Regions from separate parts of the Homo sapiens genome. Here regions 1 and 3 are each linked to region 2. The links are contacts of gene promoters, found by promoter capture Hi-C in blood cells and fetal thymus (Javierre and others, 2016). All regions are on one chromosome and are shown on one strand. Each heading gives the region's core, a stretch centred on a gene start or on the middle of the fragment in contact. The rest is flanking DNA. Distances are from core to core; before and after follow the strand shown.

Region 1 (4,086 bases), core at 751-3,250, 1.7 Mb before region 2:
TGTCCTAGAGCAAATGCAGAGGGTGTGGAAGCAGTGACCAGGGACAGGCCTGGAGAGAGACTGTGGCCAGGTCACGGAGGCCTTGTCAACTCAGCAGAGATGATGGCGGCTTCATCCAAGTGACTCTGGGGCTTCAGGGGTGCAGAGCAGGAAGAACTGAGGGAGAAGGAGAAGGGGAAGCGGGGCAGGGGTGGAGGCCCCAGGTGCTGAGAGGGCACAGCCTCACTGGAGGGAGGTGGCTCTTCCTCAGTGACCAGAGGTGAGGAGGAGGCGGGCAGTCTGCAGTGACATGGGGATATGTCTAACTAGTGTTTATAGCACCTGCGCTATCTCAGGAAGCACTAGGTATAAATAGATACTCAGCAGACATTTGTTCAGTGACGAACAAACAGCCTCAACTTGGGTGGTTGCAATTTCAAAATGCATTCTTCCGACCCTGGGAGGCTGCCAAGATCCTTGCTTGGCAAGATCCCTGAGAATGTCCTTCTAGTCCTGGTACAGCTGGAAGGATCTCTGGGAGGGTCTGTGGCCATTGGACTTGAGGCATCAAGACAGGCCCATCATCTACCCAGGAGTTCTTTTCTCAGTAGGACTTTACGGAGCGTGGTCACCGCCCTGGGACCCGGCCCACTCAGCCAAGGCTATGTCACTCACTGGGGCCGTCCAGGCCTTCACTTGGGTCACCCGATTCCCATCTCAACGTTTCTTTTTCCTTGCTATAATATTTTATTCAAAACAAGATAGATTACTTGGCCAGAGAAACTGAACCCAGACAGACAGAAAATAGCTTCCCCTTTTATTCTGCAATTCAGAACTTCTTACAAATGATCTGCCAGTTGGGGTGCCCCATCCCCTGGAGGAGTCTGTGTGTGCAGAGGGGCCATAATTGTGCTGATGTTATAGAGACTTAAGTGACCACCCCAGGGCTGCCGTTGCTCAGGTGTGTTTCTGGCATTCCCAAGTTGGTACCCTTACATGCAATATTTTACATTAGAATGCATGCGTTTGAAATAGCGAATTGGTGAACATGTAAACCAGATGCTAAGAGGGCTTTGAGAGCTAGCCTGGGCACCCAATTACAAAAGGGGCATTATTTCCACAGCAAAGCATATTTCAGGGTCCATACAGCAAACAAGGTCAAATCTGAAAGATGGGGTCTGCAAACCTCCATCTTCTTTGTAGTGATGTTTTAATCCCATTCCTCTCCAATCCTAGCTCAAGAATCTGTTAGTAAGAGCATGGGGGAGAATGATGAGAAGCCTGGTTTAAAAAACAAACACATCAAATTCTCTGCTACCACTTATGAGTTCTGTGACTTTAGTCCTTTGCTTGGAATCTTCCAGAATCATACCCTAAGATAAGGATTTAGGCACAGGCAGTTTTTTGGGAGGAGGGAGAGAAGATCCCAGGAAGTACAAGGAGGGAGTGGGGGGAGCAGATGTAGGCGTGTTTTGAAGCAGGTGATCCCTGTGGGAAATGGAGTCTTATTCCTGCTGGGACCCTCCGAGGAACTATGTGGACAACCTCAAGAAAGCTGCGGTGTTTATAAGCCAGCCCCTATCCTGTCTTGGTTGAGTGTATTCCTGGGGTGTTCACCCTTTGGCCCTTTAATCCAATAAGAGCCCATGACTGGAGAACCCCCTTGGCCAGAAAGCCCCATATGCTTTGGCATATGTGGAAACAGCCTGCAGGAGATGGCCCAGGGGAATGGGTGAGGACTCCAGTGCCCCTGTCACATGAGAATCGAGCCTCTCCGAGCCTCCGTTTCCTCATCTGCACTGTCAGCTGTTCCAGCCCGCCTAGGACCCTTCCAGGGTGATCTGTATGATCTGTGTGACCTATGAGACATGAAATAGTGACAGATCTGAGCAGAAGCCAAGCACAGCGCCTGGCCCTTCAGGGGCACACATGACATCACTGTTGTTTCATCACTTTTCTGCTTGGTCTTCCTCTGCCTAGATTCCAATATGAATTTTTTCAGTTCATCTTCAAATCTCTGCTCTCCTCTCCCTGGGGGAAATCTTCATTGCTCCACGCTGGGGTCCTGAACCCACTGAAAACATTCTCTCTGTGTCTGAGAAGCTGACTCAGATTTTCCTTTTGTAGACGGGTCTCCCGCCCTGTGCCTGCCACGGGACTGGCACATACATCGCCCGCACAGCACCATGGCCCTGGCCACCCAGGCACATCTTAAATAAAAGCAATAGTAAAAGAGTCAAGCCAACCAGCCACAGCCACCCTTTTCTCCTCCTGTGGCTGAAGCCTGCAGTGCCCCTAAGCCTGCTATCTCGTCACCTCTTCCTGCCTCTGGGGCACACATCCCAACCTAACTCTCACATGCGTGCCCACCACCCCAAACCGTGCACGGACGCACGTCCCGATGTCAGGTTCCCCATGTTTATAGGTAAAATATTACTGGTGACCGACACACAGCCTTTTTCTCCTACGTTGTCATTTTATGTTAATTGAATGCTAGTGTTAATCTAATAGAGTTTAGATTTATGTTGGGTTCTGTAGCGAGTCATATTTTAATCAATACACATTCCAACATTTAGATGGACAGATGAGAAAAGCAGCTTCATCTCCGCACTTGGGTTCCATCAGCTGTCAATAATTCCCCATTTGAATCCTTCAGATGGTCAGATTTATGGGTTTGAGTATATTGCATTCATCACAGAAATTAACTTTTGGTGGAACTGATGTGAAAGCTCACATCACATCTCCAAGAGGCAGATATTGTGTTTCAGAGCTGAGGCACTCGGAAATATTATCTGAGAGGAGCAGGTTGGCGGGGTGACAGCAGGAGATGGGATAGGGGCCTGGGTGGAGAAGGCTTTCAGGGCACAGTGCTCCTTAAGGCACGTAGGCATCACTCTGTGTCCCGTAAGCAGAGCTAGGGCTGGTTCTGGGCATCCTGTGCCATGCACCCTGTGCCCAGGCTGCCCGGGGATGGAGAGGGAGTGGTTGCATAGAGTCAGGTGAAAGAGGATGCTGTTCCTGCCAGGTAAAAGACTGAAAGACTCTTCTCTTGTGGACCTTGGCTGGTCCTACTCTCAGGTTAATTTCTCAGGAAGCAGAGCCAGAGTTAAGAAATCAGGGCATCCAGGTTTACTTGACATGTGACTGATGGAGTATTGGGAAGGGAAGGAAACCAATGGAGTGTATGCCCTCAATCCAGGTGGGCAGTTGGAGTTTTGGGGAGCTCTGGGACCTGAAGAGCACTCCTCAGAGTGACCCCACCTGAGAGGTGAGGAAGCTGCCTTTGTCTGGTAAATTGCTGCCCATCGTGGGTGGAGGCCAGCTTGAGCTCTAAATATGAACTCGGAGGCACTTTCAGCTTGTCCAGCTTGCCTCTGTAGCTGGGATGTCAATAAAAGCCTCCTGTATAGTGTGTTCTTGGTTGGTATTCGAGGTAGGCAGCTTTTTGCATTTAGAGATGGGAGTCAAGTAGACAGGGCAGGACATGCTCAGAGATGGTCCTTCCAGCCATCCCCCTGTGGTCAGGGAGAATGACACCCTGCTGCTTGAACAGGTCACGTGGGCATCGGGCTGGGCTCCACTGCTTACCTGCCCGCCTTGTCAAAATCCCTTCCCCCTGAGAAACTCCTGCAGCTGAAGGTGGCTGAGAGGCTCTGTTTCCACAACTCCCAAGAGACACAGATAACAGTGCAGTGCTCCACGAGGCTCAGTTTCTCTCTCTGGCCTCATGTTCTCTGGCTTTCATTCCTGTAGCTATCTATAGGACAGTGCTTATTGATCTTGGAATCCGTTTGCCGCACCTCTAAGGAACTGGATATGCCATTTAGGCTTTGGGGGCCATTAGACACTTCCACAGAGATTTGTATCAGAAGTAGCAACCACTCGTCTCTGTTTCTGCCATGTAAACAGGCAAATGGATTTGCCCTTGAGTTTGCTGATGCAAGCGTTCAAAGTGCAATGAGCCCAGAGCTTCTACCTGATGGACCCCTCAAAGGTGTCCGTTGCTCTATGGCCAGTGAGCAGAGACAGGTGAGAAAGGACGCTGTTCCTAACAGGTGAAAGACTGAAAGACTCTTCTCCTGTGGACCTCGGCTGGTCCTACTCTCA
Region 2 (4,508 bases), core at 329-2,828:
GAAACAAGACAAATGCCATCTGAAAAAACAGCTGACATTTGTTTCTATCAAAGCCATCCAGCAGATACCTCAACATCTTTCCACAGAACGTGTGCTCTTTACTAACAACCGACACACAAAGGAGGACGATCTCCAACAGAGGTGACTAGGAAAGGCTTCCTGGATGGCGTAATTTAGTGTTGGAGTCAGACCAATGAGCCGCCTTTTCACGGGTGGAGGTCCCAGATGGCCATCCCTTTAACAAAAATCAATTAACATGTAAATTATGTACTGACAAATACAACGTTTGATGGGCCCGCTGCAGTGGCTAAAGCCTGTAATCCCAACATTTTGAGAAGCTGAGGCAGGAGGCCTGCTTGAACTCAGGAGTTTTAGACCAGACTGGTCAACACAACGAGACCCCATCACTATAAAAATTAAAATGAATCTCAGCTACTCAGGAGGCTGAGGAAGCAGGGTCACTTGGGCACAGGGGACTAAGGTTGCAGTGAGCTACGATCACACCACTGCACTCCAGCCTGGACGACAAAGCAAGACCCCCATCTCTACGAAAAATTTAAAAATTAGCTGGGCATAGTAGTGCGAGCCTGTGGTCCCAGCTACTCCGGAGGCTGAGGCGGGAGGATCGCTTGCGCCCAGGAGGCCGAGGTTGCAGTGAGCCGTGATAGCACCACTGCACTCCAGCCTGGGCGACAGACTGAGAGCCTCACCTGTAAAAAATAATTTTAAAAAAGGTTCCACCTAGTGTTTTCCGTGGTGTGACTAAGAAAAGTATCTAGAAATAAAGCACAGTCAGTACCTGCTCTCAAAAAACGGCTGCCAATCTAGTTTGGAGACAGAAAAATATACCCGACTGAGAACACAGAGGAGCCTGTTTTCGGAAGAGGGGCGTCTTTGGAGACGCAAAATCCTCTCCGCGGGACGCTGACGGGCAGTCGGTAAAGGACTTCCAAGCACTGGTCAGTGACAATCGGGCGCTGGGGCTTTGCCAAGGCCCGGAGGCGGCGCGCCAAACCGGGCAATGCGGGAAGCGGGGCAGGCCCGAGTGGCCCTACTGCTGCCGTCCCTACTGATCCCTGCGCATCCGCCACAGAGCAGGGAACGGCAGAAAGGAGGAAGGAGGGGGAGTTCCGTAAATCAGGCCCTCAGGGGCTCCCAGGCCCGCACCCCTCTCAAGCCCCGGGGACCACCGCGGAGCCGCTGCTCCGGGCCGTGCGGCTCGAGGCGAACCTGCCTCAGAGCCGCCGGGCCCTCCTATCCCGAGCCGTATCTCTAGCTCCGGCCTGAGGTGGCCGGCGACTGCGTGCGCAAACACAAGATCCGCACCCCACTCCCCGCCACTGCAGCTCCGCGGCCGCGCTCAGAGTCTCCGGAACAGACCGGACTCAATGCGGACCAGGCAAGCGGAAGTGTGCCGCTTCCTTCCGGCCAGCGCAGCACGAGACGAGGCGGGGAACCGCGGGAGGAGGCGGGGCCTAGTGTTGACGAACAGCTCCCGGGGCCTATGGGCGCGGGGGCAGCCGCCCGGCCTCTCCGGCGCGCCCCCTCCCCGGGGCTGTTGACGCCCCCCAGCCCCTCATTTCCACAAAGCTCCGCGGCGGTTCTGCCCTCCTTGTACCCGCGGCGCGCTGCGGCCCGTGGCGCGGCCCCGTTCCCGCCTAGCCCCGTCGGCCTCCTTCCCCTCCCGGAGCCGCGCGTGAGGACGGCTGAGGCCGCAGGTCTGTGGCGGCGCGCCGGGACGCGCGGGCGAGGGTCTACCGAGAGGGCGGGCGGGCGCCGGCGGAACCCTCGGCTACAGCCCCGAGCCCCTGGGGCCGCCCCTCCCCGCCGCGTGGCGCAGTCGGGGGGCGCGGCCGCGGCGTCGGGGCGTCGGGAGGGGCGGAGCGCGGGAGTGTCTGCCGGGACGCGGGCCGGGCTGGGCTCCGGAAGGACCAAGTTTGCGGAGCGGCTTCTGCTCGTCGGCCGTGCGGCGAGGCAGGGCCTGGGCTGCGACCCCGGCGGCCGCTCGCGGTCTTGGGAGAGCTGGGGCGCGTGCCTGAACTTCCCGGCTGCCCCTGTCCTTGGAGACCTACCTGATGGGGACGCCAGGTGTGCAGGGGCGTGGCGCGTAGGTAAGCGGACCCGGTGCCTGCCTCGTCCAGGGGATGCTCACTAGAGCGCTAGGCTTTTTTATTTTTATTTTTTAGAGACAGGGGTCTCGCTGTCTCGCCCAGGCTGGAGTGCAGTGGCGTTATCACGGCTCACTGCAACCTCGAACTCTTGGGCTCAAGCGATTCTCCCACCTCAGCCTCTGGAGTAGCTGGGACCACAGGCATGCACCACCGAGCCTGGCTATTTTATTGTATAGATAGGGTCTCGCTCTGTTCCCCAGGCTGGTCTCAAACTCATGGTCTGAAGTCATCCTCCTGCCTCAACCTCCCAAAGCGCTGGGATTACATGAGCCGCCTCGCCCGGCTAGCGCTAGTCGTCCTTATTAATAAAGAATCGCTTCTGGTCCCTTTTCAGTTGTTTACAATGGCATTCCTTTTGATCTGATGGAGGAACTTTTTTTCTTAGTTCATGGGACTGTTGCAGTGCCTGACACATAATTGGTACTTAAATATGTGTTGGTTTTCTGCCTTAACATATTAGAATATATGAATTGTTTAAAAAAGTCCTCTCACACTTAGGGAGGACTCTAGGATGAGGTCACATGGGGGATAAGCCCATCTGTGGCTGTAGGACTTTGTTAAACACTCCTCTTCTCCCTCTCTGTTCCAGATTCTCCATTTCCAGTGCTTGAAAGCACAGTACTTAAATCTGGCTTCCTGCTTTTTTTTTTTTTTTTGGTATGAATGAATACATGAATTGTATAATGTTAGTTGGTTTGTTCTGTAGAGCAAGTTACCCTTAGGAATTAATAAACTGTGGAAACAATCATGTCAGGCTACTAGTCACATTTAAGAAATAATTAGTAAGAGGCTGTTCATTATTCAGAGGAGTGAAGCAAGATGTTCTGGAGGACTGGAACCCGCTTACTCACTGCCACCACTCCCCCGCCTCCCACTTGCTGCTGCCAAACCAGGCTCCTGCTCCCCCCCACCCATTACTCCCACCGACGCTCCCTGGGATAGCAGCTGCCCTGATTGGCACACCCCCGCAGTCATCACCACTGAGGCGTATTCCTGAAGCTGCCAGTGTGAATTGTTTTATAGAACACTGGTGTTAAAATTCAGGTACCTGAGACAAAACAATATTTTAATTCTTCAAAATCCGGTTGTCAACACATTTACTATGGAGTATCTCCCACGTGGCCACTTCTGTGGGAGGTACTGAAGACCTACTACCGCCTATGGAAGTAGAAAATAATATACAACTGTGTAGTTACGTGACGCATTGCGTGGTAACTGCTATGGCTCAGGGAGGGAGAAGATCAGCCGGAACTGGAATGTCCCAAGATGTTCTGGAAGAAAAGCAGTGGCTCGTTTGTGTTGCTTACCTGTATTCCTGACTCCTGGCAGGGCCTGCTGTAGAGCACATGCTTCATGAATAAATATGATTGAGTTGAATAAATATTTGAATTGTGTTTTGAGTGTAGCTTTGAAGGCCAGCAACGATTTAGATGGCAAGATCGAGGGCAGGCTGGGCACAATGGCTCATTCATGTAATCCTAGCACTTTGGGAGTCCAAGGCGGGGAGGATCGCATGAGGCCAGGAGTTCAGTACCAGCCTGGGCAAGATAGGGAGACCCCATCTTTACAAAAAATAATTAGCCAGGTGTAGTAGCACATGCCTGTAGTCCAGATACTCGGGAGGCTGAGGTGGATCACCTGAGCCTGTGGAAGTAGAGGCTACAGTGAGCCGTGATGGTGCCGCTGCACTCCAGCCTGAGTGACAGTGAGACCCTGTCTTGGGGGGAAGAAAAAAAAAGGGAGGGCATGCTAATAGAGGGAAAATGGCATAAGTAAAGGCATTTCAGCATGGATGAGCACGGGGTGTGTTGGGGAGAAGGCACTGACGTTGATGGCCTGTTTATTGCTATCTAGGAGTGATTTGGAGAACAATGCATGTAAGTCTGACATCATGATGTCCATCCGGCAAAGAAGAGAAATAAGAGCCACAGAAGTTTCTGAAGACTTTCCAGCCCAAGAAGAAAATGTGAAGTTGGAAAATAAATTGCCATCTGGTAGGTGATTTAAACTAAAGCAGCAATTTGGGTTGCTTTTATTTCTGCATATTAAAATGTCACTCTCCAATAGGATAAAAATTTGGTGGGACCTAACAATTGAAACTTGTTGTAGTACCCTGATATTCTAATTGCAATTTGATTAGATTGATTTTACAGTTATGATTTGACAAAAGATGAAAGAGCTTTGATTAGAAGTGTTTGTCAGCTGTCTGTTCATTAACTTACGGTTCTTCCAATCTCATCCTTTGACTCTCTAGAGTAATGGTCCCCCCACCCACACCCCAGATTTTAGTCTCTCTCTAATTTTTCTGGTCGTGTATACTATTTACACCAGGCAACC
Region 3 (4,510 bases), core at 103-2,602, 1.7 Mb before region 2:
CATTTGTTTTGGTTTACGTGACTACAGAGAAATAAGTGGATTAGATGGAAACTTTCACATGCTTCATTGCAGCTGGGTGCGGACATCTGTCATTCCTCAGCCATATTCTGGATTATGCCAGCAAGAGGATATGCAAAGTCTGACACCTTTGATTTTAGAGAGAGCCTTTTATAGTGGGGGGAGAGAAGAGAAGAAAGGAGGCTCATTTCCTTTGTGACTTCATAAAAAAAAAAGAAAGACACCTCTCTTCTGTGTTTTATTTTATTTATTTATGTCTGCCACGTGACATTAGTGGCGCTCCAGGATGAGGGCTGAGCATTGAAAAGTTTATGCTTCCATCTTTCCTTTTTACTTTGTAATTTTCTATTGTTCACAGTACCAATTTGTTGAATTGGGCATGATAAAAAGTAGCTATTTTAAATATATCCAGTGTGCCCATCTATATGGATATATACTGTGGGTATGGATTGCGGGTGTCTGATTCCTTTATGGGAAGAGAGATGTGCGATTCTTTCTCACACATAAACTCACATTAATACAATACAACCTCACTGAATTTTGATGGAATGTGACTGCTCCCGCGACACTGTTTTTGGTGAGCTGCTCTGCAACCCATATGGCCCCCCCAACCCACTGTAGGAAATGCACTAATGTTTTTATGAAAGATGTGTGCAGGTAGTGAATTATCCACAGATAACCTTGGATGCCAGCTTTCAGTGGATTGGATATCGATACACTTAAGGTGCTTCATGCTGGTGGTTTCATAGGTTGGCCCCTCCCCTTGTGGCTTTCCTGGTGCCATACAGAGCACAGCACACCCTTGGCACAAGCCAAGTTCCAATATTGGCCCCCCTCCCACATTTAAGTTGTACAATAAAACAGAAACTACAATTAAGGGCTGATGTGTTCATTTTAAGCGACACAATGGAAAACAGGAAGTGATTGAACCAGCAGGGACCACCCACTTGTTTATTTCACTGGGTGTGTACAAGAATGCAGTTCATCTGCTGGGTGAAAAAACACACAAAGCCTCACCCAGTCTCCCTGCCCCAACCTCAAAGAAAGTGCAATACTGGCTGTTTAGTTGAGAGTGGTACAAAGTGGAGATTGGAAAGTCCAGGGCCCACAGGCGCCTGGCTGGTGATGCCTGGGAAGTAAATGGGTGCCAGGCAGCGGGAATAAGTGGGACCCAGCTCCCCAGCGGCTGCCTCCAGGAAGATCTTGCCAGACCTCCTGACTTTGCAAGAGAAACTGGAAATCCATGTTTTAATGTGAAATATTTTTTTAAATGTAACATTGGCAATGAATTACATTTTTTTTTAAAGAAATAGTGTTGGGGGAAAAAAATATGTGGGCCTGCAGCTTGTAACCACTAGGAGGGTGAATGCATTTATGTCTACAGCAGTGATGGAATCTATGGTGCAGCCACTTGGCCCCCATGGGGGAGGCCTGTGGGCTTTTGGAGCTCACAGTCAGGGTGGGCCGTGCCATCCCAGTCCCCCACAGAAAGTGGTAAGGTGGAGGGCAAGAGTGAGGAGGGCAGGGCGTGGTTCTTGGAGATGTGATTGGGATTCTGAGCTTCAATGCAGGAAAGAGGAAAATGCAGAGCTACCCAGTATGTCAAGGTGCACCTGAGAAGCCGTTCAACACTCTCCACCAACGTGGAGAATGGGAGGAAGAGCGTAGTATTAATAGCTGAGATTGGGGTTACTAAAGGGACCCCCTGGAACACAGAGCACTCAGATTTTCCTGCTGAGGAAAACAGCAAGGCATGGTGGGGCATTCCAGGTATGAGGCACAGACCAGGTAGGGACAGTGTGCAGGGGAGGGTGCTCCAGGGTCACCTGTTAGGAGGTGTGGCCTGCACGGAGGAAGGAAGCCAAGTGCCAGGCTCTGAGCAGGGTGTGCATAGCAAGGTGGGGACTCCTGTGGGCTGAACCCCCAGAAAGAGGTCCTTCAGTAAACAACGTCTGGTTCCTTATCCAGTCCCTACTGTGTGCAGAGCCCGCCAGAGGGCAGCAGTTTCCAGCCTCCTAGAGCCATTAGCGAACAGTGCCTGACAGAACATAATTAAGTGCCTAATTGTGTGGTGCCACAGATAAGTGGAGCTCTGCAGACTGGGTCCTGAGAACCGCTTCTAGGAGGAGTTGGGGCTTTGGCGGGTCTCAATGGAAGAAGATGTGGGGGCTGGAGATGGGTGAATTTCTGGTAGGAACGACAGTGTATAGTAGGTAAGAAGGGATTGCAATTTGGAAAGCCAGGTTAAGGAGGTGAGATACTGCAGTGAGAAATAGGGAGCCATGGATGGCTATAGAGGAGGGGTGGGCACATGTATAGCCAGGATTTGGGGACTTGACTTGGTATGGATGGTGTGGCTTTCTTCTGCCTGGAGAGGTCTCACTGTTGGTCTGAGGTGGACTATTGACCCAGTGGACTTGATGGTACCCAGAAGAGGGTTTACAGGGACAGGGCTGGCTGTCACCATCTCTGCTAAATTCCGTGCATCCTTACAGCCCATCTTATTGCCAACAGGGATTTCAGATAACTGTGTTTAGCCCAATGTTCCTAAGGAGGGAAGCGAGGGATATTAAATGTGTATCATAGGTGCTGCGTCTGCTAATTTTAGACTCCTTATTTTTGCCATCTCTGAGTGTCACCCTAATAATTTCACTTAATATTTAAAAATTAATTGGTTAAAAACTTAAAAATACACAACTCTAGCTTTGTTTTAGGAATAATATCCAACTCTGATTCACTAGTTTTTGGGATTTTTGCTAAAGCTGTTAACCTGAAAAGTGGTCAGCTTGGTTCCATTTAAAATTACCTTTGAAGCCGGTTTAATAAGCACCTCTCCCCCAGCCCCCGCAATGTTGGAGAGAGAAGGGAATTTCTGGAGGAGTGAGGTGGGCCACCAGCCCCTCCGCTCCCGGCTCCCCCACTCCAGCACTTCCAGGCCAGCGCCTTCTCTTTGGTTTCTCCCGGCATTTCTTTAAAGACTAAATGCACTCACCCAGAGACAAACTCTGGGTATCATTAGAGTATTATTATATTACACATCGAAAAATCTTCAAAAACGGAATGTAAGTTCATTGACCCTTTGAAGGTTATTTAATGATAAACATAAATGCTTTCATAAAATCCGGGCAATGATTTAAGGTCCCCGATCAATAGTTGCTGTTGAGTGCACACTGGCAGGGCAGGCCGGCTTGCCTGACCACCCAGGCGGGCTGATGGCTCCACTCATCAGAGGAGCCTGGGTAAGCAAATAAACAGGATATAAGGCAAAATCTGTAGGGCATGCGCAATGGCGGGGGATGAAGTTGCTGGGGAAGGGAGCCACCTAGAGGCCAGGCCCCAGGAAGAGTAGCCCTGAAGCCAACACCTGGTGGGGCTGAGCTGGGAGGCATGGGAGACTCTGCACCACCAGCCAGAGGCTCCTCTCTGCTGATGCCCTGCTGAAATCTGGCGACATCTAAGCTCTTATCCTAACTCAACTTGGGCCTCAAGCTGCAGGGAGACAGCAAGACACAGTGCAGGTTGAGCTCCAGCTGCAGGACCATGTTCTGCCTCTCTCTGGCTTTGTGGCTCTGGACAGATGCTGTGCTAGTCCATTCTCACACTGCTACAAAGATATGATCAGAGACAGGGTAATTTATAAACAAAAGAGGTCTAATTGACTCATAGTTCTGCATGGCTGAGGAGGCCTCAGGAAACTTACAGTCATGGCGTAAGGTAAAGGGGAAGCCAGGCATGGGGGCAGGTGAGAGAGAGAGCAAGTGGGAACTGCCAAACACTTTTAAAACCATCAGCACTCATGAGAACTCCCTCACTATCAAGAGAACAGCATGGGGGAAATGGTCCCCATGATCCAATCACCTCCCACCAGGTCCCTGCCTCAACACCTAGGGATCGCAATTCAAGTTGAGATTTGGATGGGGACACAGAGCCAAACCATATCATCCAACAAATGGGAGCCCAACCCCTGATTTCAGCATTGGCAGAGGAATCAAAATGCACATCTCCCATTTGAAGTTCAAGGTTACCATGCAATGGGCACGTAGTAGGTGGAGTATTTTAATACTTACAGCCTTTTCTAGCAGACATTCATTTAACTCTATGTGCTGCACTTTGTGCTTAAGCATCAGGCCTCATCTCATTGAATCCTCACAGCAATCCTATTAGGGAGCTATTATTATTATTGCACCCATTTTACCGATGAGAAAACTGAGACTTAGAAAGGTTAACTAGCTGGTTCAAGAGCACACACAACCGATAAGAGGCAGATACGTTAGAGCCTTGGTGTCTGGCTTGAAAATCTACAGTCTTCATCACTGTGCTTGAATAATGAAAAATGCTGCATGCTAGCAGGGCAGTGGCGATTTCTCAAAATCTGCTCTGCTGCCTTCCCTGATCCTTGGGTTGCAGGCCCAGCAGACTGTGTGTGTGCCATATGCCCTCCAGAAGTTTTCGTGTCAACAGAAGTTAAGTATTACCTGTTTGGTTCTGTGAC

The links. Contacts are between HindIII fragments. The CHiCAGO score rates a contact against its expected background, and 5 or more counts as called.
Region 1: a fragment that was not itself captured here is called in contact with the fragment with the promoter of DPY19L3 in region 2 in 1 of 17 cell types (endothelial precursors); the score reaches 5.9 in endothelial precursors.
Region 3: a fragment that was not itself captured here is called in contact with the fragment with the promoter of DPY19L3 in region 2 in 1 of 17 cell types (M1 macrophages); the score reaches 5.0 in M1 macrophages.

What each region holds. Positions count from the first base shown.
Region 1 is chr19:30,671,380-30,675,465 of GRCh38, forward strand. It overlaps a transcript of ZNF536 not described here. Among named protein-coding and RNA genes, the nearest start is that of ZNF536-AS1, 3.2 kb to the left of the region's middle. The HindIII fragment of the contact is 7,406 bases long and covers 1-4,086 here.
Region 2 is chr19:32,404,192-32,408,699 of GRCh38, forward strand. It overlaps DPY19L3 (dpy-19 like C-mannosyltransferase 3), which reads left to right and starts at 1,579. Exons shown (of 19, transcript NM_001172774.2): 1 at 1,579-1,718; 2 at 4,026-4,165. The coding sequence starts at 4,063. DPY19L3-DT (DPY19L3 divergent transcript) reads right to left here and starts at 1,348. Exons shown (of 3, transcript NR_046201.1): 1 at 800-1,348. RefSeq lists silencers at 1,131-1,180, 1,211-1,960. The HindIII fragment of the contact is 5,769 bases long and covers 1-4,508 here.
Region 3 is chr19:30,693,364-30,697,873 of GRCh38, forward strand. It overlaps a transcript of ZNF536 not described here. Among named protein-coding and RNA genes, the nearest start is that of ZNF536-AS1, 25 kb to the left of the region's middle. The HindIII fragment of the contact is 9,269 bases long and covers 1-4,510 here.